Regions from separate parts of the Homo sapiens genome. Here regions 2 and 3 are each linked to region 1. Evidence: promoter capture Hi-C in 16 types of primary human blood cells and fetal thymus (Javierre and others, 2016). All regions are on one chromosome and are shown on one strand. The core of a region is centred on a gene start or on the middle of the fragment in contact, and the rest is flanking DNA. Distances in the headings are between cores, read along the strand shown.

Region 1 (4,362 bases), core at 60-2,559:
TAACTGAATTAACTCAAAAAAGCAGAAGCAGATTAATTAGTATTCTGATAAAAAGAATATAATCATTTGGTAAAATCTGCGTTGAATTGTAAAGGTTCATTTTAATTACCCCAACTAGGTAACTGTGCAGTTGGAGCATAACAACTCCTTTACGTTCGACTCTTCCAAGACTTTGTAAGTGGCACTTATTTTAATGATATAGAATTTTGATGATATCGCCATTCTTGTAACGTGACAAATTATCTAAATCACAACATCTGCGGTCAGGCTGTTTCTCAAGATTTCTGTTCTCCTGCCAACTAAAGAGGCCCCGACTACTCCTTGGCGCGCACACTGAGGCCGCGCTGCAGGTCAGCACCGAAAGAGCCCCGCACGGATCCCGCCCCACAGGTGCGATTTACACAACCCACATCACCACCACCCCTCCCAACTTCACCACCTCTAGGGTCACCACCCTGTGGGGTTTTGTCTTTACGACTAAGCCGATTCCCTCTGCCTCGCTGGGGAATCAAACTTCCCAGTGACAACGACAGCGGCCAGCACGGGACGTCCACCAGCCCGGCAGGGCTTGACGCTGTCTCAGACCCGGGGAAGGTCCGGAGTCCGGGCACGGTGGCGCGGGGTGCGCAGCCCTGCCCACCTGCCCTACCTGGTGCGAGCCCCGGCCCCGGGGACTGGGGAGCCAACACGGCCGAGCGGGCGTGGGCAGCAGGGCGAGCGCCGGGAGAGGAGAGCGACGAGGGGGGGTCAACGGAAAGAGCGGAGTAGGGGTGCCAATCGAGGAACTTTGGATTTAGGAGGAGGGGGCCAGAACCGCCCCACTGAGGTTTCTTCCAGAAGTTCGGAGGCTTGGGAGAAAGGGGTGGGGAAGAGACCCGTAGAGGCTCGGGTGCGGCGGCGGGGAGGATCCCCGGGGTCTCTGGGCTGACGGAGTCTCCGGCCTCAGGGAGGAGTCGCCAGGGCCGCCGAAGCCGAACTGGCAGAGGAAAAGCAGAGGAAGGCGGCGCGCGAACTCGCCAGCAAAGGAGGGCTGCGCTGCTCCCGGAGCGGAGCGCCTCGCAGCCCGGACCGCGGGACTCACCGCGCTGGCGGCGGCGGCGCCAGACGACGCGGGGCCGGGCACGTCCTGCCTCCTCAGGCGGGACTTGAGGCTCTTCATGGCTAACTCTTGCCTGGCCCCCGCGCGAACCTTAAAGGCTGCGGAGTGCCAGCGCGCAAGGAGTAGACGGCAGCGGCTGCAGCAGAGGCGGCGCGGGCTGTACCAGCCCCACCTGCCTGCCACCTGCGGGCCCCGGGCAGCAGACGTCGACAGGCCTGAGGCGGGGCTCCCCTCCCGTAGCCAATTGACCCGCTGCCCTGGCGGGGGCGTGGCAAACCGCGACCAATCGGAATGCGGGAATGGGGCGGGACTTCCCTTTTAAACTGAGTAACACCCTTCCTCTCCCAGCTGGAGGAAAAGTTTGGGAACTTTAGCCCGGGAAGGGGCGGAGGAGGTGGGCGGCCAGAGGCGTGGAGATGCGCGCAGGCCGGGCTCCAGGCCACCGGCGCCCGCCCACCCGGAGCTTAAGATCTAGAGAGAGCACGGGGTCCCGCCTTTGCCACCTCTCATCTTCCCGGACTCCCCTCCTCTTTCCACCCACGCGCTCTTTACCAAGTAAAGTTCCTTCCCTTCCGTCTGGTCTTAGAAATGACTCTTGGTTACCTGCACACAGAACAGCTTTCAGGAGCAACTTCTTTTCAGTCTCCTGTTTTACTACCAAATCCTGGTGCCTGGAAACCACCACACGCATCAAAAATTCCAGAAATAAACAGTCTCTAAGAAATAAGGTGCTGATTGTGCAGAAAAACGTACAGTTAAGAAAGACCTTGAAAGACGTTATAGTAAGTTACAGTACAAGTTACGTGCTCGTTTATTTGTTGAGTGAAGAATCCGCCGTATTGGAAGCAAAGGGACGGAATGGGGGCGGGGAGGGAGGAGAAGAGGTGCCATCAATTAAAAATGACTCCCACAGCCAGTGATTTAAGTTGTCAAAAAAAGTTACGCCCTTTTTTCTTCAAAAAGGTTTTTTGTTTTCTGTAGAAACACATTACATGTAAACGTATACGATGAAGTTAAATCATCTTACCTAGAAATCTGGGTTAGTAAAAATTATTTAAGAGGATGAAGAAACAGGAAGGTGCTCAGCACCCAATAATTTGCTGTTCGGGTGACATCTTCAAAAGTCTTCTTTGGAGTCATTTTTCCCCCCAGCAAAACGTTTATCGTAGCATGCATCCATTTGAAAAGACAAACGGTCCACATTTTCTGACTAACAAAGGACTCTTTTTTGTCTGAAAGGTCAGTTGCTCTCTTTAGAGTTTCTTTATAGTAACGCAAGGTTTTCTTCAAATACTGTAAGAAAGTTTTCAGAATTTCTTGGAGAGGCAGCATTCAAAGACTGTGTTAACCCTATACAACAAGTAAATAACAACTAACTACCCAAAAATATTATTAAATTTCATCTTGATTAGATCTTTGGAAGAAAATTTTCTTTGATTCCTCCCCCTTCCTCTAGATCTCCAGTCATTTAGTTCTTGTTGGCTCTTTAAAGTGTCTGTGTATGGTCAGTTACTCTGTTCTCACTGCCACTGCAGAGCCAAAATTACCTCATACCCGGACTATTATTACAGAAGCTTCCCAGCCAGTCTCCCAACCTTCAGTCTCTTAATTGTCCCATCACCAATAAATTATCAGCCATCATCAATAAGTCTTACAAAAATACTCCTCTTGCTCAAAAGCCTTCAGCAGCTAACGAATAAAATCTAATTCTTTGCATTTAAAGCTGTATAACGTGGACGCGACCCTGTTCTCTAGCCAACACCCCAAGCGAATTACTCTTCAGCCCATTCTCCAAACATGGGTCATGGCTTTCAACTTCCACATCTTTATGCATACTGATCCCTCCCCCAATAATCTTCTGTCTGTCTACATTCATCTCAGAAAATCCTACTCCCCCAAGAGTGATTGGTAGGGGATGTCGGGGGCTTCTGGAATACTGTACTATTCTCTGTGGGTGCTGGTTACATATCTAGTGTTTTCAGATTGTGAAAATTCAATGAGCCTGTACTGTATGCAATATATTCTCTTTTATGTGTGTGTTATGCTTTAACAAAAAGTTTGTTTTTAAGTGTATGTCCCTTCCAAGTGCCCTCCTCTCTATAGAACCTTCCCTGATCAAGTAACTGGAAGTGATCTCTCCATCCTCCAAATAGTTACAGCAATTATACCTCTCATATGATACTAACACATATGAGCTGAGCAAACCTTATTTCATTACTGGACTTCAATTTACTTAAAATTGGGGAATAACTGACATATATTTGAATTCCCTAGAATGCTTAGCATGTTATAGGTGTTTAATAAATATTTCTGAATGAATTGATGCATTCTTATTGACTACTATAGCAAATTATGGTTGTTTGTTCTATGTATTTATGTGACACAGGATTGGGATTCCCCCTATTGTGAACACAGATGGAATGATCTGAGGCTATGGTCCTGCTCAAATATTTGTGTCTCAATCAACTCCTTTCTCTGGGCTTAAGATAAGCACCCATTTACCATCTAGTCCTCTGACTGAATCTTAAATGTTAATTGCTTACAAGAGCACTGTCTCAGTAATTGGCTCTTGAGTTATTAATTGCAGTGTTATGTTGTACTGGTTGTCTCCTGTAACATCCAAGTTATCATAGTCCTGGTGACTGGCCTCCTTTTCTGTTGTTACTGGATAAAGCAAAGGAAACAGACAGAACCACAAGTATAGCTTGCATCAGGTTCCAAAAATGTTGGGCAAGTTATTTTTATGAACTGTCTGGATGATGTCCCCATGGTGTCTGTGTCCAGTGGCCTTTATGGATTTTTCCAGCCTAGAAACTTGATAGCTGATGTCTGCTTATTCCCATTTGAGAGCAGCTAAGTAAATAGCACTGGTCTGAATATTCAGTAAAGCTTTTTTACATTGATCTGGAAGCTGCCTATATGAAGTAAAGTCACTATTATTAGCATTCAACCAGACAGGTTGGGTTTTATTTTGTTAACTCTTATCACTATTATTTATTTTTATCTTCCCTTCAGAGCAAAGGGCACTTATCAAACCTAGATGACCTTTTGTTTGTTATCACACTGAGCCTATATAAAATATTTTTTTGTTTTACTTCTTTTTTTTTTCCAATATTTATTTATTTACAATATATACCAGGAAGGGTAATGCATTTTTTAAAATTACTTTACTAGATTATATATACACATGGTAATCTCAAATAATACAAATGGAGCAAGTTGATCTGCTTACCACCCCTATTTTGATCCCTGCTGTCAAGGAA
Region 2 (3,968 bases), core at 1,231-3,730, 1.2 Mb before region 1:
ACTCCTTTTTTTCTCTTTGCATTTTGTTCTTTAGACCTTTCCTTCATTTTACCCAGAACACAAATGTGATGGCTGGAGCTACAGCACCTATTTTGGGCTTGTGTGCTAAGGATATGATTGCAGAAAGATAGGAAACCCTGAGGACTTTGTGGGAGCCATCGTTCCCACCCTGGGCTGCCCATTTCTAGACTTGTTTTATGGAAGAGATAAAGCCTTCATTTGTTTTCATCACTATAGTGGATTTCTGTTACTGGCAACCAAACCCAATCCCAGTTGATAGGGGACTCCTTGTAGTTCTGTCATAGTTCATGATAATTATGGTCAGAATCATTTAATGCCTCCCTCACTAAACTGTGTGCTCCGTGAGAGCAGGGACCCCATCTGCCTTGTTTACTTCTGTATCCCCAGCAACCAAAACAGTGCCTGCCACTGTTAGTGCCAGTAAATGCTTAGTAAATCTTTTGGGGTGATTATATCCCAGTGAATACTTGGTGGTCTAGCAGAAGTCCTAAGGGATCATTTGAGGAAAAAGTGGCTCTGATAGTGGCCTTCATACTAATTGTGACAGGCTGCCCCAGCTGCTAGCAACTACCTTTCCTTTCCTGGTAAGTTGGCTCCTCGATATCATCATTTAAAAATCAAATTTTTGATGGAGTGTGGTGGCTCATGCCTATAATCCCAACACTTTGGGAAGCCGAGGTGGGAGGATCACTTGAGGCCGGGAGTTTGAGACCAGCCTAGGCAACATAGTGAGACCTTGTCTCTTATTAAAAAAAAATCAGCTGGGCATGGTGGCATGTGCCTATAGTCCCAGCTACTTGGGAGGCTGAGGTGGCAGGATTGTTTGAACCCAGGAGTTGGAAGCTATCGTGAGCTGTGATTGTGCCACTGCCCTCCAATCTGGGCAACAGAGAGAGAGACCCTATCATACACAAAAAATAAAATAAAATAAAAATAAAATTTAAAAAACAGAATTTTAATTTTTTCCAATATGAAAGTCTCTTTCAGGATATTCTTTTATAACCTCACTACCTATAATAGCTGCTTAAAAATACACAAAGAACAAGTAGAACACACAGGAAAACCAACTTTTTTCTTTTCACTCTCAGTTCTATGCAGTTGCTTTTTTCACATAGGCCCACATAAAAACTTGCATCAACCCCCACTCTAATATCATACTAGAATTTTCCCACTTATTAAAAAGTTGGACTGAGTGATAATTTTTAGTGGAGAGACTGCAACTTGTTTCCCATCGAGGAGAATTACTTGGCCTGTTCCCTCTTCATTTTGTACTTTTTGTTTGAACGATGCTATCATGAACCTCTCTTTGTGCCCAAAGCTTTTTCTGTACTTAGGATTATTTTCTTAGATAGATTCTCAAAGTGGAATTATTTGATCAAGGGAGGTATACATGTTCCAGTGTCATTTTGCAAAACAGGAATCAATGCACAATTAAGGGAATCTTAAGGGAGAGACCCACTCATTTTTTCTTTTTCTTTGGGCTCAGTTTCCCTAGCTGTAAAACTGAGCAGGTCCAAACATAGAGAGCTCTAGCTTCCCTTACAGGTTCGAAGTTCTGCTGATGGTTCAGGAATGAGGCTTCTGAGATCTTTCAGGGCACAAAGTCGTAAGACGACCTGGGTTTGTCAGCCATTGCCTCTGGTTCACCCTCTTAAAAGCTGACCTTCACCATGGGGAAGTGGGTCATTGGAGCCTCCAAGCTGTCTTCCTGTGTTTTCCTCACAATAATACTCCTTCCCCAGCTGCCAGCAAGCTTATGCTCTAGTGCAACCCTAACCCTTCTAGAGAGGGTGGAAAGCTTCATATCCTAGAGTCTGAGGGATGTGAAGTTGGGGATTCACCTTTGAAAGCAGTAGCAAGAAGAGGGCAATGCTTAACCCAAAGGGACACCTTGAAACTAGAACATCAGACCCCACTGCAGGCCACTGAGGGACCTCAGCCCACATGGCACGTAAACTACTCGTGCACAGCTGGAGATACCATTTATGCTCTGTGGCGAGGCTTCTCGGCCTTCTCCTCCGTAAGATCATATTACTGCACTTATTTTCATCTCAGTGACCTGCCAGACTGTGAGCTCCTTGAGGACAGTGATTCCTCTGATGTGTCTGCATCTGAGACACAGCAGGTGCTCACTACTTATTTTAAGTGAGCAAGAGAAGGGAGATGCCCCGATGTGATGGGAAGAATTCATGGCGAGATGGGGAGGAGAGCCAGAGCTCAGACAGGAAAGAGTGGGAGGGAACAGCTGACGGTGGGAAAAGTCCTGGGATGCTCCTTTCTCTGATTCAAGACAACATAAACTGAACCAACTCCCAGTCCCTGCAGCCTGGCCCTTCTTGTGTGTGCAGCTTGTAGGCCCTGAGGTGGATGTTTAGGGAATGAGTCCTCAAAGCATATACGTTGGCAAGGGTGGCAGAGCGCTGTGGGAGAAGGAGAAGCATGTGCAGAAAGAGGAGGCCAGGGGACCTTATGGCTCCTTTGTCCATCCACAAAGCATTAGTTTATTTATTCACTCATTTTTTCATCCAATATTTTTTAGCATCTGCTATGTATTATGTTCTGTGTTAGGTGCTGGGTGTTCAAGGAGGTAAATGAGAGCTGTGGTCCCTGCAAAGGCCAAGAGCACTCTGAGGAAACATCAGTACCTGGGGAGGCAGTGTGTGGTACCCAGCGGAGTGTGTGATGGGTGATGGGCATGGGCGGAACACTCACACAGAAGTGGCAGCGTGCCACAGGGGTGGCTGCAGGGGTGGCCATGCCTGGGGAAACGCGACTGCCTGGTTTGTCAGTGGGCCCTGTAGGACAGCAGTGAGGCACCTCCCAGGCAGCTCTGCAAGTGGCACTCCAAAGGAGAGCTGGAGAATAGAGGAGGGAAAAATGGGAATTCCTTGAGTCATAATTGGGTAGAGCTTTAGAAGGGGTTGAAGGTCATAAGTGGGAAACATGAGCCTAGAAAATATTGCTTACACATGAAAAAATGGCAGGCAGGATCAAACAGCAAATTGCAACCTGACATGCATGCTAGGGTCATGTCTGTGAAAATTCTACCTTTGGGAGGTAATGTGCCAAAAGAAAAAAAAAAAGAGACAAGAGAGAAGACTGTTGATTGAATGATGGGGGTAAGCTTATGGGTGATTTGTTAGATGGTTTTAAATGTTTAATCTTATTATGTAGTAGCTATAATCTTATCATTACAGTAGTAATACTAAAATTGAGGAGTAGAACAATGATAGAGTTTGGGGGGATGAGAGATGTTTTCTTGAGATTCATTTCACATAGTAAAAGAAAACCCAATAAAAGTAAGATGGAATGAATCCCCTCTACATCTTCTTCTGTGACTGGGTCAGGCAGCTGTGAGCAGCTAAGAGAAGCCCTGATCTTACAGGTGATTCAGCTCCACTTCCACTTCTTTTTGGGACTCACTGGGGATTATTTGTTTCTCTTAATGGGCAACAATTAGCTAATACCCCACCACTACAAGCAAAGTAAAAACTGGGCCTGTGTTAACAGTTCTCTTTTTGATGGGGTCATTGGTGTAACAGATAACTTCTAGCTGCATTAGGACTGGTAGCACATCAACATTGCCTCTCTGTTGTGAAAGGAAAATAGAAACGGCTAAGTCAACCATATATAAAGGCTTATATTTGCTCTTCAAAAGTTTTTTTTTTTTTTCAACATATCTTTGCTGGGGTTGGGCCATAGCTTGATGGGTATTTGTTGAATGACTAATTATTGACTTATAGGCTAACAGCCTCCTTTGAAGTAGGCTGAGCAAACAAACCATTAAGTGGAACATGGTGTCTAGGTTACACAGCTCACTCATCTGCTAATCACTGGGGCACACTGCTGGTTATTATTACCTGAGACCCTGAAAGGAAGCACTAAAGAAATGAAGACAGAGGAATACCAGGAGAGAAAGGAGGTCCAGTTAGACCTAAAGGTGGGCA
Region 3 (4,304 bases), core at 895-3,394, 1.3 Mb before region 1:
TTGGAACTTGGATGGGATTGAAAGGAAGCCTGTATACCTGAGTGGCTTCAGCCTGGGAGACATTTATACAATATGACAGACTAGGCTAATTACTAATGATCATGTATGTTCTTTTGATGTAAAGGGCCCACGTTAAAAAACCAAGGGGTGACCTGTGGTGTTATGATGTATACATGTATTGGTTTTTGTCCACGGTTCCTGGCTTGCCGCCCCCAAAGCACTTGTTATAGGCTTAACATTGTGGGCATCAGGCCTCAGGAGCAGGACTCAGGAAGCAGAATCCCTCCGACCTTCTCCTGCCCTCCCTTCGGCAACCCCAAGCCGGGATGCTAATCTTCCCCTGTTTCTCCTGTTACACGGGTCATAAGACTCTCTCCTCCGAGGGTCCTGCTCTGTGCCCTGAGGGAAGGAATGGAGATGTCATGAAGCTTCCATAAAAACCCACAAGACCTGGGTTTGGAGAGCTTCTGGACAGCATGTGGCATTCCACATGGAGGTTCCTGAAGGTGGTGCTCCAGGGAGGGCACAGGCAGCTCTGTGTCCCCATAGCTTGCCCTACGTGTGTCTTTTTTATATTTTTATTTTATTTTATTTTATTTTTTTGGAGATGGAGTCTTGCTCTGTCACCCAGGCTGGAATGCAGTGGCACGATCTCGGCTCACTGCAACCTCTGCCTCCCAGCTTCAAGCGATTCTCCTGCTTCAGCTTCCTGAGTAGCTGGGACTACAGGCGCCCGCCACCACGCCCGGCTAATTTTTTGTATTTTAGTAGAGACGGGGTTTCACCGTGTTGCCCAGGCTGGTCTTGAACACCTGACCCCGTGATCCGCCTGCCTTAGCCTCCCAAAGTGCTGGGATTACAGGCGTGAGCCACAGTGCCCGGCCTCTTTTTTATTTTTTGAGACAGAGTCTGACTCTATCGCCCAGGCTGGAGTGCAATGGCGCCATCTTGGCTCACTGCAACCTCTACCTCTGAAGTTCAAAAGATTGTCCTGCTCAACCTCCTGAGTAGCTGGGATTACGGGCGAGCGCCTGTAACTTTTGTATTTTTAGTAAAGATGGCGTTTCATCATGTTGACCAGGCTGGTCTTGAACTCCTGACCTCATAATCCGCCCATCTTGTCCTCCCAAAGTGTTGGGATTGCAGGCGTGAGCCACTGCATCCAGCCTATGTGTCTCTTCATCCTGTATCCTTTGTAATATCCTTTTTAATAAACTGGCAAATGTAAAAAAGAAAAAAAAAGGAAAAGAACAAAAGAAAAAAATACATAGTTATGAACACAGACTTAGGCATAAAGTGAATGTGCTGGAGCTGCTGCTGCCCCCTGCAGGTCCCTCTACCGGGAAAGGTGATTGGAGTTCTGGGGGGTTTTGGAGGGGACCCTTGGGGCAGTGGCTATTTACTACCTGGTGTGGAAGCATTTTAAGATTTTAATGCTGAATGTGGCTGTACTGACATATGCATGGTAGCTGCACCTCCACGCTGGGTGCTGTGATGAAAGCGCCCTGCACTCAACCAAGGCACCCCCTGTAAGGGCAGCTCCTCCGTGCTTCCCATGCTGGCTTGTCCTCAGCTGAAGGTAGGCCAGAGGCGCTGTGTGGGCCGGGTGTGGTGGCTTCAGCCACCGTGGCAGCTGACGGAGATGGAGGCCGCCTGGGATGGGCCTATGGGTTTTTTATACTAGGGGGAGGTAGGTCTGCAGCAGAATCTCTGAGGAAAAAAAATTTTTTTTCCAGGAAATTAACAGAACAGAACTGTATTGCAAACATGATGAAGGGAGGCAGGAAGCTCTTTGTAAGTCAGAAAGAACCGGGACTTGGATGTATTAGAAGGGAATCCAGGTAGGCTGCTGTTTCCCAGCCTGCCTAGCAGCTAGTAGGGGGCAGGTGAGAGGAGAGAGGTAAAGAGAATGAAAGTCCAGCTTAGACTCATTTGATGTTAGAGTTGGAAGAGTCTCACCTCCACGTGGACAAACTGAGGCCCAGAAAGGCAAAGTGGCTTGCTTCACATCATGTAGCTTCCTATTTTATAGGCTCATTTGGGTTTTATATGTGAGTTCTTCTTTATAAAGTGGTTATGTGGAAGGATTTTTTTTTTTTTTTTGAGACTCTGTTACTCAGGCTGGAGTGCAGTGGTGTGATCACAGCTCACTGCAGCCTCGATCTCCAGGGCTCAAGCAATTCTCCCACATCAGCCCCTGTGAAGGGATTAAAGTAATTAAAAATGGGTACCCTTTGGGGTGATGTAGAAAGGGTGTTGGACTTGCAATTCTCTCACATTCCACTGGCAAGAACGTGGTCACACTCAAGTACAAAGGTGTCTGGGCAATGTAGTCCACAGCTAAGTAGCTGTGTGCCAACTACAATATTATTACTCTAGAGGAGCGAAAAGGATTTTGGTGGACAGCTGGCATTCTCTGCCACAAGCTAGAAAATGTGCACACACACACACAAAATCTTTAGGGTTGTGGTTGCCTTTAAGCTCTTCTAGGTTTGATTTGATTCAATATTAGATCAATAGTGACATACTCCAGGAAACTCAAAAAATACAGTAAGGACAAGAAAGAGGGAAGGATGACTCTTGTGTTTATCAGGCACCTGCTATGCTCAGCCCCATGCCATTGATTGAGCAAATATCTAGGAAAAGGCATCACCCCTCAAGTTTAGTTAGTCCAAAACACACTTGGCAAATAAACAGCCCCTAAATCATGTGTTGAAGACCAGGAATGCTGTAAAGATTCTAGAGAGGAAGGGATCAAGATGGACTGGGATGGTCAGGGAAGGAAGGTGCTCTTGAGTTGGCTCCTGGGACTTAACGAGATGGCGCAGATCAGAGGCAAGTTGTTTCAGTGTGGAATGGGGGTGGAGGAGAGGAATAACATCTATCGGGCACTTGCTGTATGCCATTAACAAGTGGTTTCAATTAATTTTCACAGTAACCCCAGTATCTCCCTTTTATAGATGAAGGATTGAAGTCATGACAGGCTAAGCTCTTGTCCCCACAGCTTGATTGAGGAGCTGAGATTCAAACCCCCGTCTAACCCCAGGGTCCTAGTCCTCACCCCTCCCTTTCCCCACTCCCCCAAACCATTTAGATCCAAATCTCCTGACTGTTTCTTAAATTAATGTTCTGTTAGCATCTTGGGCTCATTGTACATGTTTCTTAGAGGACACAGCTGGGTGACAGGACAAGGCTATGTGTGCTTGTGTGGGTGTCTGTGAAAGAGGAAGACAATTTTAAAATTACTGTTTCATTACATATGTCTCAGCATTGGTTAACTAATTTTTGCCAGGACCATCATTGATCAAGCAAATAAATTCAAAAGCCATTTGAGGGGGGAAGAAAAGAGGAAGACAATTCTGTTGGTTTCTAGCTGTTTGGCTTTGGATAAGCCATTTATCTTTCCTGGGCCTTAATTTTAATCTCTGAACAATCTGTTTCATTGTCCCTGCACAGAGTGTTTGGTGAGGTTTGGATGAGGTCACAGATGACCACATGCCTTGTTCATCACAGGGTGCTGTGTACACTGCCAATGTGCTGGTGGGCCCCAAAGGCCAGTGAGCTGTTGAATATCATTGGAAGGAAAATGGAAAGAACGTAGAAAACATCACCCCCACGCTGTGTAAAACTGGGTGTCCCTCAGGAATGCCTAGTGCAGTTGGTGTCATCATCTCTTAAAAAACACAGGGTACAGATGGCAGGTCGTGGAGGGCAGCTGGATGCATGCTTGGAACCTGGTGCTGCAGAGTGAGGGCCTCCCCAGTACCCAGGACATGAGCTCCTGTGATGTGGCAAGCTCCTTGAAGCATGCTCCTGGCCCTCTACTAGCTCCTGAAATGCTCTGCCTGACCTCCCAGCCTTGAAGCTTTGTGTGGTGGTAAATGTTACAACTAAACGGAAGATCTGCTTTCTACGGGGAGAGACAAGCTGTTGGATTTGTACAGTGCTTAATTATTCAGTCTTTTTGGTGATAAAGGACACAGGGCCCTGAAACTTTCTGCAGAAAATGGGAGCTTATGGTGAGAACTGGCAAGTCCAAAAGCCCAGAGACTGAAACTGCTTTTATTATTATTATTATTATTATTATTATTATATTGTTATTATTTTTTTTTTGGAGACGGAGTTTCACTCTTGTTGCCCAGGCTGGAGTGTAGTGGCACAATCTCGGCTCACTGCAACCTCTGCCTCTCGGATTCAAGTGATTCTCCTGCCTCAGCCTCCCAAGTAGCTGGGATTACAGGCACCCACCACCATGCCCAGCTAATTTTTGTATTTTTAGTAGAGATGGGGTTTCACCACGTTGG

What was found. The method cuts DNA at HindIII sites, captures the fragments that hold promoters and counts their contacts. A CHiCAGO score of 5 or more calls a contact.
Region 2: a fragment that was not itself captured here is called in contact with the fragment with the promoter of UACA in region 1 in 1 of 17 cell types (naive B cells); the score reaches 5.8 in naive B cells.
Region 3: a fragment that was not itself captured here is called in contact with the fragment with the promoter of UACA in region 1 in 1 of 17 cell types (naive B cells); the score reaches 6.4 in naive B cells.

What each region holds. Positions count from the first base shown.
Region 1 is chr15:70,762,249-70,766,610 of GRCh38, forward strand. UACA (uveal autoantigen with coiled-coil domains and ankyrin repeats) reads right to left here and starts at 1,310. Exons shown (of 19, transcript NM_018003.4): 1 at 1,082-1,310. The coding sequence starts at 1,159. RefSeq lists a silencer at 1,075-1,484. The HindIII fragment of the contact is 4,014 bases long and covers 1-2,671 here.
Region 2 is chr15:69,588,330-69,592,297 of GRCh38, forward strand. It overlaps PCAT29 (prostate cancer associated transcript 29), which reads left to right and starts at 3,871. Exons shown (of 4, transcript NR_126438.1): 1 at 3,871-3,968. The HindIII fragment of the contact is 1,326 bases long and covers 1,818-3,143 here.
Region 3 is chr15:69,501,344-69,505,647 of GRCh38, forward strand. No RefSeq gene overlaps it. Among named protein-coding and RNA genes, the nearest start is that of LINC02896, 41 kb to the left of the region's middle. The HindIII fragment of the contact is 3,437 bases long and covers 427-3,863 here.